Linked DNA regions of Homo sapiens: regions 1, 2 and 4 are each linked to region 3. Evidence: promoter capture Hi-C in 16 types of primary human blood cells and fetal thymus (Javierre and others, 2016). All regions are on one chromosome and are shown on one strand. Each heading gives the region's core, a stretch centred on a gene start or on the middle of the fragment in contact. The rest is flanking DNA. Distances are from core to core; before and after follow the strand shown. Region 1 overlaps CDK19 (cyclin dependent kinase 19). Region 2 has its middle 3.2 kb from the start of CDK19. Region 3 holds the start of GTF3C6 (general transcription factor IIIC subunit 6). Region 4 overlaps CDK19 (cyclin dependent kinase 19).

The links. Contacts are between HindIII fragments. The CHiCAGO score rates a contact against its expected background, and 5 or more counts as called.
Region 1: a fragment that was not itself captured here is called in contact with the fragment with the promoter of GTF3C6 in region 3 in 4 of 17 cell types (megakaryocytes, neutrophils, M1 macrophages and 1 more); the score reaches 8.3 in megakaryocytes.
Region 2: a fragment that was not itself captured here is called in contact with the fragment with the promoter of GTF3C6 in region 3 in 1 of 17 cell types (megakaryocytes); the score reaches 5.6 in megakaryocytes.
Region 4: a fragment that was not itself captured here is called in contact with the fragment with the promoter of GTF3C6 in region 3 in 1 of 17 cell types (megakaryocytes); the score reaches 6.4 in megakaryocytes.

What each region holds. Positions count from the first base shown.
Region 1 is chr6:110,725,832-110,729,175 of GRCh38, reverse strand. The region is part of intron 2 of CDK19 (cyclin dependent kinase 19); the gene reads left to right. Among named protein-coding and RNA genes, the nearest start is that of CDK19, 88 kb to the left of the region's middle. The HindIII fragment of the contact is 5,536 bases long and covers 1-3,344 here.
Region 2 is chr6:110,817,069-110,820,205 of GRCh38, reverse strand. It overlaps a transcript of AMD1 not described here. Among named protein-coding and RNA genes, the nearest start is that of CDK19, 3.2 kb to the right of the region's middle. The HindIII fragment of the contact is 1,400 bases long and covers 607-2,006 here.
Region 3 is chr6:110,956,846-110,959,992 of GRCh38, reverse strand. It overlaps GTF3C6 (general transcription factor IIIC subunit 6), which reads right to left and starts at 1,287. Exons shown (of 6, transcript NM_138408.4): 1 at 1,167-1,287; 2 at 741-821. The coding sequence starts at 1,223. RefSeq lists an enhancer at 965-1,414. The HindIII fragment of the contact is 8,604 bases long and covers 1-2,945 here.
Region 4 is chr6:110,746,409-110,749,569 of GRCh38, reverse strand. All of the region lies in intron 1 of CDK19 (cyclin dependent kinase 19), which reads left to right. Among named protein-coding and RNA genes, the nearest start is that of CDK19, 67 kb to the left of the region's middle. The HindIII fragment of the contact is 264 bases long and covers 1,246-1,509 here.

The DNA.
Region 1 (3,344 bases), core at 487-2,986, 230 kb after region 3:
CTTTTACTTACTAGGTCTGTGATCTTGTATAAATTACTAATCTCTTTTCACCTGTAAAAATAGGGAGAATAATAATTATTTATCTGTGGAAAGCACTTAACATAGTGCCTGGCATATAGGGTTCATTAAATATTAGACTATTATTATTAATCATTCAGGAGGTATACATTGCCTATTCTATGTGCTAGGCACTGTCTTTCAGAAGAGATTGTTAATGAACAAATATTCACACGAATATTCACACAAGATGATAAGAGCTAAGGAAAAGCTAGTATCATGGCAGGATAACAAGAGAAAGATTATCTAACTTTAGGGCATCAAGGAGGATTTCCCCAAGAAAGTAACATTTGTGCAGAGATTTGAAGGATGAGTGGGAGCTCATTAGGCAGAGTAGAGGGAACATTGTGTATAAGCATGACGCAGCATGCCACATTTGAGAGTATAGGAGATGCTGGTGTGCCTGAAGTGATGAGTGAGGATGAAAGTGACCTGAGAGGGGAAGACCCCCTAACAGGGCCAGGTCACATGCAGCTGTGTGGGCTGTGTTAATGATCTTGGGTTTTAGCAGGGAAATGACACAGTCAAATTAGTTTTTTTTTTTTTACCACTCTGACTATGGTATCAATAGATGAGAGTAAAGATAGAGGAGAAGATGTAGGGAGAGTAGTTAGAAAACCTCTGCAGCAATCAGACTAGGGAAGATAGACAGAAGTGGAAAAAAACTTAGAGATTTTTCCTGAGGGCAGATGGGTAGAAATTGATGAATTGGATATAGGCAGCAAGGGAGAGAGGTGGCAAAGATTTCCGTTTTTTCTGGCTTTGGCAGCTAATTTGACTTCTAATAGATAGCATGTGCTCTTTCTCTCTCTCTCTTTTTTTTTTTTTTTTGAGATGGAGTCTTGCTCTGTCACCCAGGCTGGAGTGCAGTGGTGCAATCTCAGCTCACTGCAACCTCCGCTTCCCAGGTTCAAGCAATTCTGCTGCCTTAGCCTCCTGAGTAGCTAGGATTACAGGTGCACGCCACCATGCCCGGCTAATTTTTGTATTTTTAGTAGAGACAGGGTTTCACCATGTTGCTCAGGCTGGTCTTGAACTCCCGACCTCGTGATCCCCCACCTTGGCCTCCCAAAGTGCTGGGATTACAGGTGTGAGCCACCATGCCTGGCCTTTCTCATTTTTTTTTTTTTTGAGACAGGGTCTTGCTCAGTTGCCCAGGCTGCAGTGCAGTGGCAGGATAATAGTGCTTTGCAGCCTCGATTTTCTGGCCTCCAATGATCCTCTTCAGTTTCCTGAGTAGCTGGGCTGGGACAATAGGGATTTACCACTATGCCTGGCTAATTTTCTTTCTTTCTTTCTTTTTTTTTTAGTAGAGATGAGGTCTCGGTATGTTGCCCAGGTTGGTCTCAAACTTCCGGGCTCAAGCAGTCTGCCTGCCTTGGCCTTCCAAAGTGCTGGGATTACAGGTGTCAGCTCCTGCACCTGGCCCAGTCGCTCTTCTTGAGAGAGGAATTCTAGAAGAGAACTAAGATGGAGAGGGCAGACAGAGATTTTCTTTTAAAAAAGACATCTTGAGTTTGAGAGTCCATTGAAACATTTAAGAGGAGGAAGAGACAATTATGATCTCAGTAATGAAGAGGATTATACAAGAGCAATATATGACATGCTTCTTTCCATCATGAACCTTATATGCTGGTCCAGAAGATAAGACACATTTTTGAATATAATTAATACTACAAGACTGTGATTGAAGGCATTCTGAAAGAGTAGGTACAGTAAGTGGAGTGAGGCCACTTTGGACATGATGATCTCAAAGTTTCAAAGATAAGGAAATACTTAAGATGGGCTTTAAAGGATTAGTAGTGTGGGAGGGAGGGAAAAGCACTCTAACAGTAAATGGAAAAATAGGTAGTTAGTGAAAGGGGTATGGCGAGGGTCTGGGTGGTTAGTTACTAGTTATAGAGCAATTTAGTATTCATCATAGCTCAACCAAGAATCTTTTGTATGTAATAATTTGACTTTTATAATGTGTTTTCATATATCTCATGAGAAATGGTCTTATATAACCTAATTCTGTCTTATGTCTCTGTCTTTCCTACTTATTGAAAAGTTCATATTATTGAAACCCAGTATTCTATTGTTGACCTATAATAAAACTATAAATATTATTCTCTGACAGAATGTTATGAAGATGTGCCACTGAATAATAGTTGTTCTTTCCAGCTTGATTATCTTAGAGGAAAAATGGCATGTGATTTAATTTATACGAGAGTACCTTGTAGACTTTATGGGATTATGAAAATGCAAAGTATTATTATTAATCCTTCCATATATTCCATGTTACTCTTCAGAACTTAGAAGTAAATATTTTTTGCTCTGTAGCAAAATGACTGCAATCAGTGGACTTTTTTCCAGCACCTTTGTAAAGTCTGGAGTCTAAAAAGCCCAGCTCTCTGTAGGCCAGGTTCATTTTTGGAAGTGTGTAGTGATCTATCTTTCCCACTCAATTGTGGTTTTGTTTGCTATTAACAAAAATATAGTTTTTTTGTTAACAGATAAAATTATAAGTCCAAACCACTAGTTCAAAATATTTTTCTAAATTAATTAAGATTTAAGATCCCTCCCCACCCTATTCACTTAGGTATCTATAACTGGGGCCATTTTCTAAATGGAACCTTTTCAGGCATTACTTGTATATCAATTATTACTTAATAATCCCCCCATTTTCTTTAGGCTTGAGTTGAAAGAACACTTATATTTGATTCAGATGGCTTTCTAGGACTATGAATAGAGATAGTGTTTCAGAGTTTCAACACACATCAGTGTCCTTTCCTTTCTGATTTTCTGGGACAAGGACCTGGTAACATCTGTTTATTCTTACTCAAAATGCTTGCATTAATTTACCTTTGCTAATTATCTCCTAAAGTATTCCCTAATACTTTCCTTCCCATCTACAGAAAAAGTATGTGAAATGCTTTTGCTGCATGATTATAACATGATTATAACAGTTGCATCATGAAATACTAGGATTATCTTTTTTTCCCAATCAGATAAGATAGTTTCCTTTCATTTTTCTTTACCTTATTGTTCTTTGAAGCTACTGGTGTTTTAAAAATGGTATTAAAATGTTGTTCCCATAGCAACACCCTACTAGTTTCTTATGGAAAACATGGCGTGTTTTACAAGTTGGATTGAAAAAAAAAGAAATGCTTTCTGAAAGAGTTTATTTATAAAATCAAGCCCATAGAACATAACTGTTTATTTCTTTTAGAAGCATTGTTAAGCAGAATGTAACAAAGGATTTTACACTTTGATGTAAATAAAGTGTGTTTCCTATCTTGCTTATG
Region 2 (3,137 bases), core at 57-2,556, 140 kb after region 3:
AGAGTAAAGTGAAAGCAAGTTTACTGGAGAAGTAAACAAAAGAATGGCTACTCCATAGGCAGAGCAGAGATATGGGCTGCTCCACTGAGTATACTTACAGTTATTTCTTGGTTACATGATAAACAAGGGGTGGATTATTCACAAGTTTTCTGGGAAAGACATGGGGATTTCCCAGAATTGAGGGCTTCTCCCCTTTTTAGACTCTATAGGGTAACTTCTCAAGTTGCTATGGCATTTGTAAACTGTCATGGCACTGGTAGGATGTCTCCTATAATGCATGCTAATGCATTATAACTAACATATAATGGGCAACAAGGAGACCAGGGGTCAGTGAGTAGACCAGAGGTCACCATCCTGGTTTTGGTGGGTTTTGTCTAGCTTCTTTACTGCATCTTATCAGTGGAGTCTTTATGATCTGTATCTTGTGCAGGCTTCCTATTTCACCATGTGACTAAAAACACCTAGCTTCCTGGGAATGCAGCACAGCAGGTCTCAGCCTTATTCTACCCTATTCAAGATGGAGTCACTGTGGTTCAAATGCCTGACAGTTATTTCTATCTTGATGCCCCCATAGGTACTTCCAATTCGACATGCCCCAACCAAGCTTATCTTTCTCTCAAAAATTGCTCCCATTCCTGTGTTTCCTAACTTTCTGAAATTTCTACCATATTGCTGAAGTCAAAATTCTCAAAGTTATCTTGGATTCTTCCCTCTCCTTTAGTCCCACATTTAATTAATTACTAAGTCTTGTTAAATTTTACTCCTAAATAATTATAGTATGTGCTTTTTTCTTATAGTGCTGCTCTTCCGTGGTTCAGATCCTTGTTTTTTGTTTGTTAGTTTGTTTTGAAACAGAGTTTCGATCTTGTTGCCCAGGCTGGAGTGCAATGGTGCAATCTTGGCTCACTGCAACCTCTGCCTCCCAGGTTCAAGTGATTCTCCTGCCTCAGCCTCCTGAGTAGCTGGGATTACAGGCATGCGCCACCACGCCCGGCTCATTTTGTATTTGTAGTAGAGACGGGGTTTCTCCGTGTTGATTAGGCTGGTCTCAAACTCCTGGACTGAGGTGATCCGCCCACCTCGGCCTCCCAAAGTGGTGGGATTACAGCCATGAGCCACTGCACCCGGCCCAGATCGTTGTTTTTACCGTCCTATTGCAATAGCTTCTTTGCTAGTCTCACCTTCCTCCAATTGAACCTGAACACTTTTGTCAGAGAATTTGCTTAATACTCAGGGCTGATTATAGTTCTCCTTAGCTCAAAAGTGTGTAATAGCTTCCTATTGCCTACAGAATTGAGAAAAGAAAAAAACTTTCATTTGAGGAATGTGAGGCCTTTTAAATTATAAGGCACAGAGAGACATTAAAATAATACAGGAATTAGGCTCGCGCCTATAATCCCAACACTTTGGGAGGCCAAGGTGGGCGGATCACTTGATGCCAGGAGTTCAAGACCAGCCTGGCCAACATGGCAAAACCCTGTCTCTACTAAAAATACAATTAGTTGGGCTTGGTGGCACATGCCTGTAATCCCAGCTACACAGGAGGCTGAGACAGGAGAATCACTAGAACCCAGGAGGCAGAGACTGCAGTGAGGTGAGATCGCGCCACAGCATTCCAGCCTGGGTGACAGAGCAAGACTCTGTCTCAAAATAAATAAATAAATAAATAAATATATATATAAATAAGATACTGGAATCAGGTGATACTTTCCCCTTGAGCTATGTATTCATCTCCTGAAATGCTTGCTATTGCCACAAGTAGCTACAAATTAATCCAATAATGCTGCACCAGATGCTATAACCCACACCCTATATCTTAACAATGTATAGCTCATTCATTAATCAATGTTATTCCTGTAAACCAATGAGAATTCCTCACAAACAACTTTGAGCCCACTTCCTATCCCCCTTTTTTTGCCTTTAAAAATCTACTTGCAACTGCTCCTGATTGGAGTGTACATTCAGGGCAACTTGTATCTATACTCCTGGGTTGCAATTCTAAAGCTTGGCTCAAATAAACTCTCTACTTATATTAATTTTGCCCCAGCTTTTTCCTTTTAGGTCGACAGAATAATGAAACCTAAAACCTCTCCCTGACATAAATAGCTTTTCATAATTTGACCTCTGCTTATCTGTTTAGTATTTTCTTATCCATTACTTTTTCCTGTCTTAATCTGTAATATTCAAACTAGTTGCATTTCTCAGAATATATGATGTTCTCTCATGATTTATGTACATGCTGTTCTACCTGAAATAATTCCTTGTTTCTTGCTCTTCGACTTGTCCTTCAAGTAAAGGCTTACTCATGCTTTAAATTTTGGCTCTCACTCAGCAGATGGGGCTGGAGTGAAAAAAAAATTTGGCTCAAACCTACCTACTTCATGAAGTCTACCCTGACTCACTTAGAACCCCGCCTATTCTACCAGTGCTCTTTTAAACCACAGTTTATTTTTAATTTGCTTGCATATTTGTTTTTTCAGGTTTAATTCCCCAATGGAAAAAGACTAATTTTTTTCCTGCTATCTCCAGCAGTTATTATAGTGCATGGCAACAAGAGCAACTGAGATTTTTCTTGATTAAAGATACCATTTTTTTTTGAGTCGGGGTCTTGCTCTGTTGCCCAGGCTGGAGTGCAGTGGCATGGTCTCAGCTCACTGCAACTTCTGCCTCCCGGGTTCAAGGGATTCTCCTGCCTCAGCCTCCCGAGTAAATGGGACTACAGACACATGCTACCACACCTGGCTAATTTTTGCATTTTTAATAAGAGGCAGGGTTTCACTGTCTTGGCCAGGCTGGTCTTGAACTCCAGACCTCGTGATCCACCCGCCTTGGCCTCCCAAAGTGCTGGGATTACAGGTGTGAGCCACTGCACCCAGCCTGAAGAGACTCAAGGTCTAAGGAAGTTTTCCAGGAGTGGGTGATGTAGCAAATAAGGTAAATCATTCCCCCTCCCACTAGTTTTCCAAGTTTCTTTCAAAACCTAGCAGGCAGTTCACTATTCTTTCCTTATCTACCACTTTGGGTAGAATTGACAATTCCCTTCTTTGTCCTCCTAATGAATGTGTTATGTCCTATCCTAGCACCAATCATGTTTAAGTGTGTATCCCAAACATTTGGGACATTAGGCTCACCATTAC
Region 3 (3,147 bases), core at 38-2,537:
TAATTTATTATTATTATTATTTTTTTTTTTTATTGAGATGGAGTTTTGCCCTTTGTTGCCCAGGCTGGAGTACAGTGGCGCGATCTCGGCTCACTGCAACCTCTGCCTCCAGGGATCACGCGATTCTCCTGTCTCGGCCTCCCGAGTAGCTGGGATTACAGGCGCCCACCACCATGCCTGGCTAATTTTTGTATTTCAGTAGAGACGGGGTTACACCATGTTGGCCAGGCTGGTCTCGAACTCCTGGGCTCGTGATCTACCCGCCTCGGCCTCCCAGTATTGGGATTACAGGCGTGAGCCACCGCGCCTGGCCATTTTTTTTTATTATTATTTTAGAGAAGGGGTCTCGTTATGTTGCCTAGGATGGTCTCCAATTCCTGGGCTCAAGTGATCCTCCCACCTCTGCCTCCCAAAGTGCTGAGAATACAGGAATATATGTACGGTTCCATATCACAATGTTACTTCCTCCAAATCTGTAACTTTCTCTTCAGCCACACATTCAAACAGGCAAGCAAAGTTAGCCATTTTCTCCTATCTGCTCCCATAGTCCCCGCTGTACTTCTACATTATACTTAATTACATATTAATTAATTATACTTAGTATACTTCTTATCCTTAGAGTTCACTACTTTGTAAGGTGAAATAAATATATCAATACTTGCGGATAGGTATTTCACCATTGATTCTTGTTTTACATTTAAGACACTCTAGAACAATCCCCCCAAGTCTAGAAAACTCACCAAAACCTTGCATTTATTTTCACATTTTGAGAGGAAGTCTGAATCAATAATTCCTGATAATTCCACCAGAACCAACTGCTCCTGGTGAAAGAAAGAGGGGTTAACATGCTAGCACGCGAGCGGCCAAGAGGGAGCAATTAGCAAAAGAAGCCAAATTTCCCACATTTGTGAAAACCGGACCCTGTTTTCAGCAAGAGGAAACTACGCTACCTAAGGTAACTTCCCGGTACTTCCCATCCCAAGTACGGGGTGACGATTAGGGCTAAGGTCCCAAGCTGCCCGGCTCCTCGCGCCCAGGAGCAAGAAGCCGGTGAGGAGCAGTGGGGCCTCCCTCCGGCCCGCAGCTCCCCAACTCCCTTCCCCACACACAGCCAGCACAGGCATCACCGCCACTGCGGTGCAGGCTTTTGGCGTAGCGCTTACTACCTCCTCTTCCTCGTCTTCTCCGTCCTCTGGACTCCGCTCGTCCGCCGCCGCCGCCATGGTCCCGCGGCGCCTCGCCTTCTAGTCACTGGCCACGCCCGCCCGGAGCCGCCATCTTGAGTACGGGCTTCAGCTCCGAGGCGAAGCAGCTTATTGGGTTCCTGCCGCTCCGCTCCTCGCCGCGCAAATTGCTTCTGCCAGAACTCGAGATGTCGGCTTCCGGCGGGCGGGTGGCTACGGGCGCCGAGAGCGCCGGTACCCACGTGGAGACTCGCCACGGGCCTCCTCGTTTCTCGGTGCCTCAGAGCAGGGGCTGGGGGTGGGCTGCCGTAGGCAGCGGAGCCCGCTCGGTCACGCAAGAGTCGCCGGGCTCTCGGCCCCGCTGGCGGGGAGGACTGGCAAGGCAGAAGGGATAAAGGCGAAAACAAGGAAACCATGGTTTCAGGCGGATCATGGACAGAAAGGCCTTGTGTTTGACCCGAGCACATTTCTTGGAAAGAAATTCTTAATATTGTGTGAGCGCTCATCCTCAATTCAACGTACCCCAAGCCAAGTTAAAGGCACATTCAGTTTAATACTAATGAGCGCCTACACAGTAAAAAGCACTGCACCAGGAGCTATGAAAAATAGAAAGTGGGCTTAAGTTTCAGGCCTGCAGGAGCATAAGATCTGTGAGAGGTACATAAATGGATCCAAGCAAGTGCTGTAAGAGATACACATTGTTATAGGAACACAGAGACCTGGGCAAGAGAAGTTTGAACAGAATTTTCAGAAGTATCCCATAGATGTTTGTGATTGTGAAAGAAACGGTCTTCGTACTTGCGATAGCGTGATCTAGTGGTTAAGATCGTGAGTTTTGGATTTTTATTTATTTATTTATTTGGAGATGGAGTTTTGCTCTTGTTACCCAGGCTGGAGTGCAATGGTGCAATCTCGGCTCACTGCAGCCTCCACCTCCCGGGTTCAAGCGATTCTCCTGCCTCAGCCTCCCGAGTAGCTGGGATTATAGGCATGCGCCACCACGCCCGGCGAATTCTGTTATTTTTAGTAGAGACGGGGTTTCTCCATGTTGGTCAGGCTGGTCTCGAACTCCCGACCTCAGGCGATCCCCCTGCCTGGGCCTCCCAAAATGCTGGGATTACAGGTGTGAGCCACCGTCCCCAGCCTGAGCTTTGGATTTTAATACCAGTCAAGTTCTGCTGCATTATTAACAGCAAGGCTTTGGGCAGATTGGTGGTTGTGAGGATTAAATGAGACAATACATATAAAATAAATTTAGCCCAGTATTCAGCACATAGTAAGCATTTAAAGTGCATTTAATCTATTATTAGTAGTAATATATAAATTTTTTAGTATGATGCTCTTTCTCTCTTTCTTTTATTCATTGTTTGTTTCTTTCTTTCTCTCTTTCTTTCCTTTCTTTTTTGTGACAGGGTCTGGCTCTGTCGCCCAGCCTGGAGTGCAGTGGCGCCATCGTAGCTCCCTGTACCCTCAAACTCCTGGGCTCAAAGGGAGCCTCCTACCTCTGCTTCCTGAGTAACTGGGACTACAGGTGCACGCCACAGCGCCTGTCTTTACATAATGGTTGTATGAGTGTGCCATAACTTGATCCTCTATTTTTTAACACATAGGTTATTTACAATTTGTGGATATTGTAAATAACACTCTTTTGTGTATATTTTTGTCCAGTTGCCTAATTAAATGTATAGGATTTCATAGCTTAAAAAAGTAGAAGGAACACTGGACCTGTTAGAAGTACATTTCAATTCTAGCTCTGAAGCTTAATAATTGTGAAGTTTTCCAACCTCAGTTTTCTTATTTATTATATGAGGATGAAAATAATTATACTTAACACCGGGTGCGGTGTCTCAAGCCTGTAATCCCAGCACTTTAGGATGCTGAGGCGGGCGGATCACAAGGTCAGGAGATTGAGACCATTCTGGCTAACACGATGAAACCCTGTCCCTACTAAAAACACAAAAAA
Region 4 (3,161 bases), core at 128-2,627, 210 kb after region 3:
TGGCCAATATGGCGAAACCCCATCTTTACAAAAAATACAAAAATTACCTGGGTGTGTGGTATGTGCCTGCAGTCCCAGCTACTTGGGAGGGTGAAGTGGGAGGATCATCTGAGCCCATGAAGTTGACACTGCAGTGAGCCCAGATCGTGCTACTGTACTTGGGGGACACATTTGTCTCAAAAAAAAAAGGAACATAGTGTCTCAGATGGAAGACCTAATAGAATTGGTCTGTGTCAAATTTATTTGTTCTATTTTGTTACGTAATGTTCACATCAAACAATTGTTTTTCATTGTGACTGCTGAGAGTGAAGTTTTCATGGTGTTGCTACATGTTATAGACATATAGAAGAAACATCTTGATATTTAAAAATTCTATATAGCATTTATCCATGTTTATAGTACAAATACATGTATTTTTAATTCTTCTGGATGCATTTAGTAAATTCCTCTGATTAATTTCAATATGCAGTTGCTCTAATCATACTATCTAATATACACGAAAATGTAGAAAACAGTTTCTCTGAAGGCTTTGGAATTGCTTTGTCTATCTTTATGTTATTTAGAAATAAAAGTAATTTGGAAATGAAATAGTTTTAAGGAGGAACTAAGCTGCCTCTAAAAGCTGGATTATCATAGCAGTGTAGGCTAGGCAGGTTCACCTGCTTTTCAGCTTTGTCATGTAAAATAAAAAATTGTTCTTTTATGATATTTAATATTACATGTGCCTGAAACATCTAAGCTGTGAGGTATGAATTCCTCTACTTGGAGGAACTCCTGGAGAGGGGCACTCACGTGGGATGAGAGCAATAAAGCTTCCCTGTCTCATGTGCCTAATCATTGAAATATTTCTAGACGTTGTGTTAAAGGATGCATGTTTTGTCTTCAGACTAAGGTGTTGGCATATGCCCAAAGATTGGCATTCACGTAGTACAGTGCCAAGAAGTCCCATATGCCCTCTGGGACCTTGCAACTTCTTCATATGGTGAACCTTAGAGATGCTGCATCATCACTTACCATCTGACAGTTAGTTTACAAAGAGAAATAGTAATGATATATGTACTTTCTTTCATTCTCAATTTAAATGTTGCAAATAAATCTTAAAATTGCAAATTTTTTAGTATTTTATTTTAGCAGGTGGAAGTTATATTTAAACTTATTAAGTGAAATAATTACTGGGTTTGTTCCTTGTTCCTGTCCACATAATTTAGAGTAAAAGGCCTATGCTCAGTCTCTTCTGTTCAAGCTTTCAAATTCCTTTGACAGCCTGGATGTGAAATTCAAAAGCCATTAATTTGATGTGTTAATTTTGCACTTTTTGACTTACTGCAAAGATCTTATAGTTTCCATAGCAACTATAACCTATCCAGATTGTGTAATATTCTTTACAGTATTAAAAATAAAACTATGCAATTACATGAGCTTCTGGACTACTTTGTCTAGGGGAACTGAGGATTGAAATGTTTCTGTTGAAAAAATTATAGTTTCATGTGAAAAATTTTTTAGAAAGCTTTTATAATTTTGTTTCAAGAATACATCAAACTTAAATATTTAGCAATAGATACCTGATAGATAACTTAATTATTAAATGTATAAAATTTACATCGTAAGCATTGTGTTGAGCTTCTCAGGCACATGTGCTCTCACTCTGTACCCACAAATACATTTAAGGCACAGGAGGGACACTTGGCTTTGATTACATTCAATCACCTGCAGTTTATGCTTCTTAATGGCTTCTGAGTGGTCTGAAAAAGTCTGGTTTTATGTCTGGGCAAAAAACAGGATGGAGAAAAAGGAAAAAATGATCATTTAAACTTTCCTTATTTTTGACTTTGCTTTTTAAAACATGCCTGAGCTATCACTTTGAAAATACTAAAGATTGTTTTAGTAGGTATTCTCAGAGTATCAATTTATTTTGGCTTTTTAAAGGCAATATAATATTAGCACTAAAGTTAGTTGACATAACTTCCTATATCTTAACGTAACTGTTAATTTTTTGTATTGCCTTCAACATATTTGTAGATGTATATTTTTATATAGTATAATTTGTGTATTTTCTCAGTAGTATATGGTAAATATTTTCCATGTTTCTAATGACCTTCTAGCCATCATTTAAAAAATTGCATCATAGTCCATCTTGTTGACATACCTAGTATGTTTTATTTGTCAAAATACTGTTTAATTATTTCCTGAATGCTATCTGTTGGAAGAAAAATGGATATAATTTTCAAACTCATTGTGAGGGAAAGTAACCATAACTCAATTATTTGCTTGAAGATGATTGTGAAAATCTTCAAAAGGGATTTAAAATGGTGTTTTAAAATGTGGATTTTGAATAACATCCTAAACTGCTCTATCTGCAGGTAAACATAGAATGGGGAAAATGAGGAATAGCTAAGACAGATGTGGCACTACTTTGGCGCTATATTTGACAAAAACATCATGACATGGTGATACTTTGCTGAGGCTCTAATATGATCAAAAGACAAAACTTGGAAGGCATGGATTTAACTTCTCTTATAAGAACAGCTCACAATATGAACTATAGTTATGACATTCAGCTGAGACCTTTGTGTGGCTGGTTCTGGTATCAGCACCCTTGAGAATGCTTACTGTACTTACTGTATTGTACTAGCTGCTTATCTCATACTGTTAATATTTTAACAGAATGTTTCACCAGATTTTGAACTGCTGTATTCTCTTGGTTAAGCAACTTAGTAACTGTTGGGATTTCCCAGGATTCCTAATACTATGTCCATTGTTTGAAAAATCCACTTTAACTACTGGGTTTCTCCTAGTGTTCCTGAGAATGACATGTTGGTGGCTAGAGCTTTGAAATCTTTAAAAGGCTTTTGATTGAGGTCCTCGGGCTTTTGAATGTCCCCATGCTAGGTGAGATACAGTGTGTTTTAGTGGGTTATGATTCCTATAAAGCTTCTTATACTATGAAATTACTTTAAATGAATCTGGGAGTTTATGTCTGTCAGTTTTTTATAGTGAATGTCTATAACAGAATGCTTTTGTTGACTCCAGGTAATTAAGACAGGAGTGGAATTATCTTGCAATATGTTTGAGTTTATATTTATGCTTGTTTACTCTTTGAAACTAGTGCTGTGTTTAGTATCCTGTTCTGTTTCAATTTTGAATTTTGTGTTTTCGCTGTG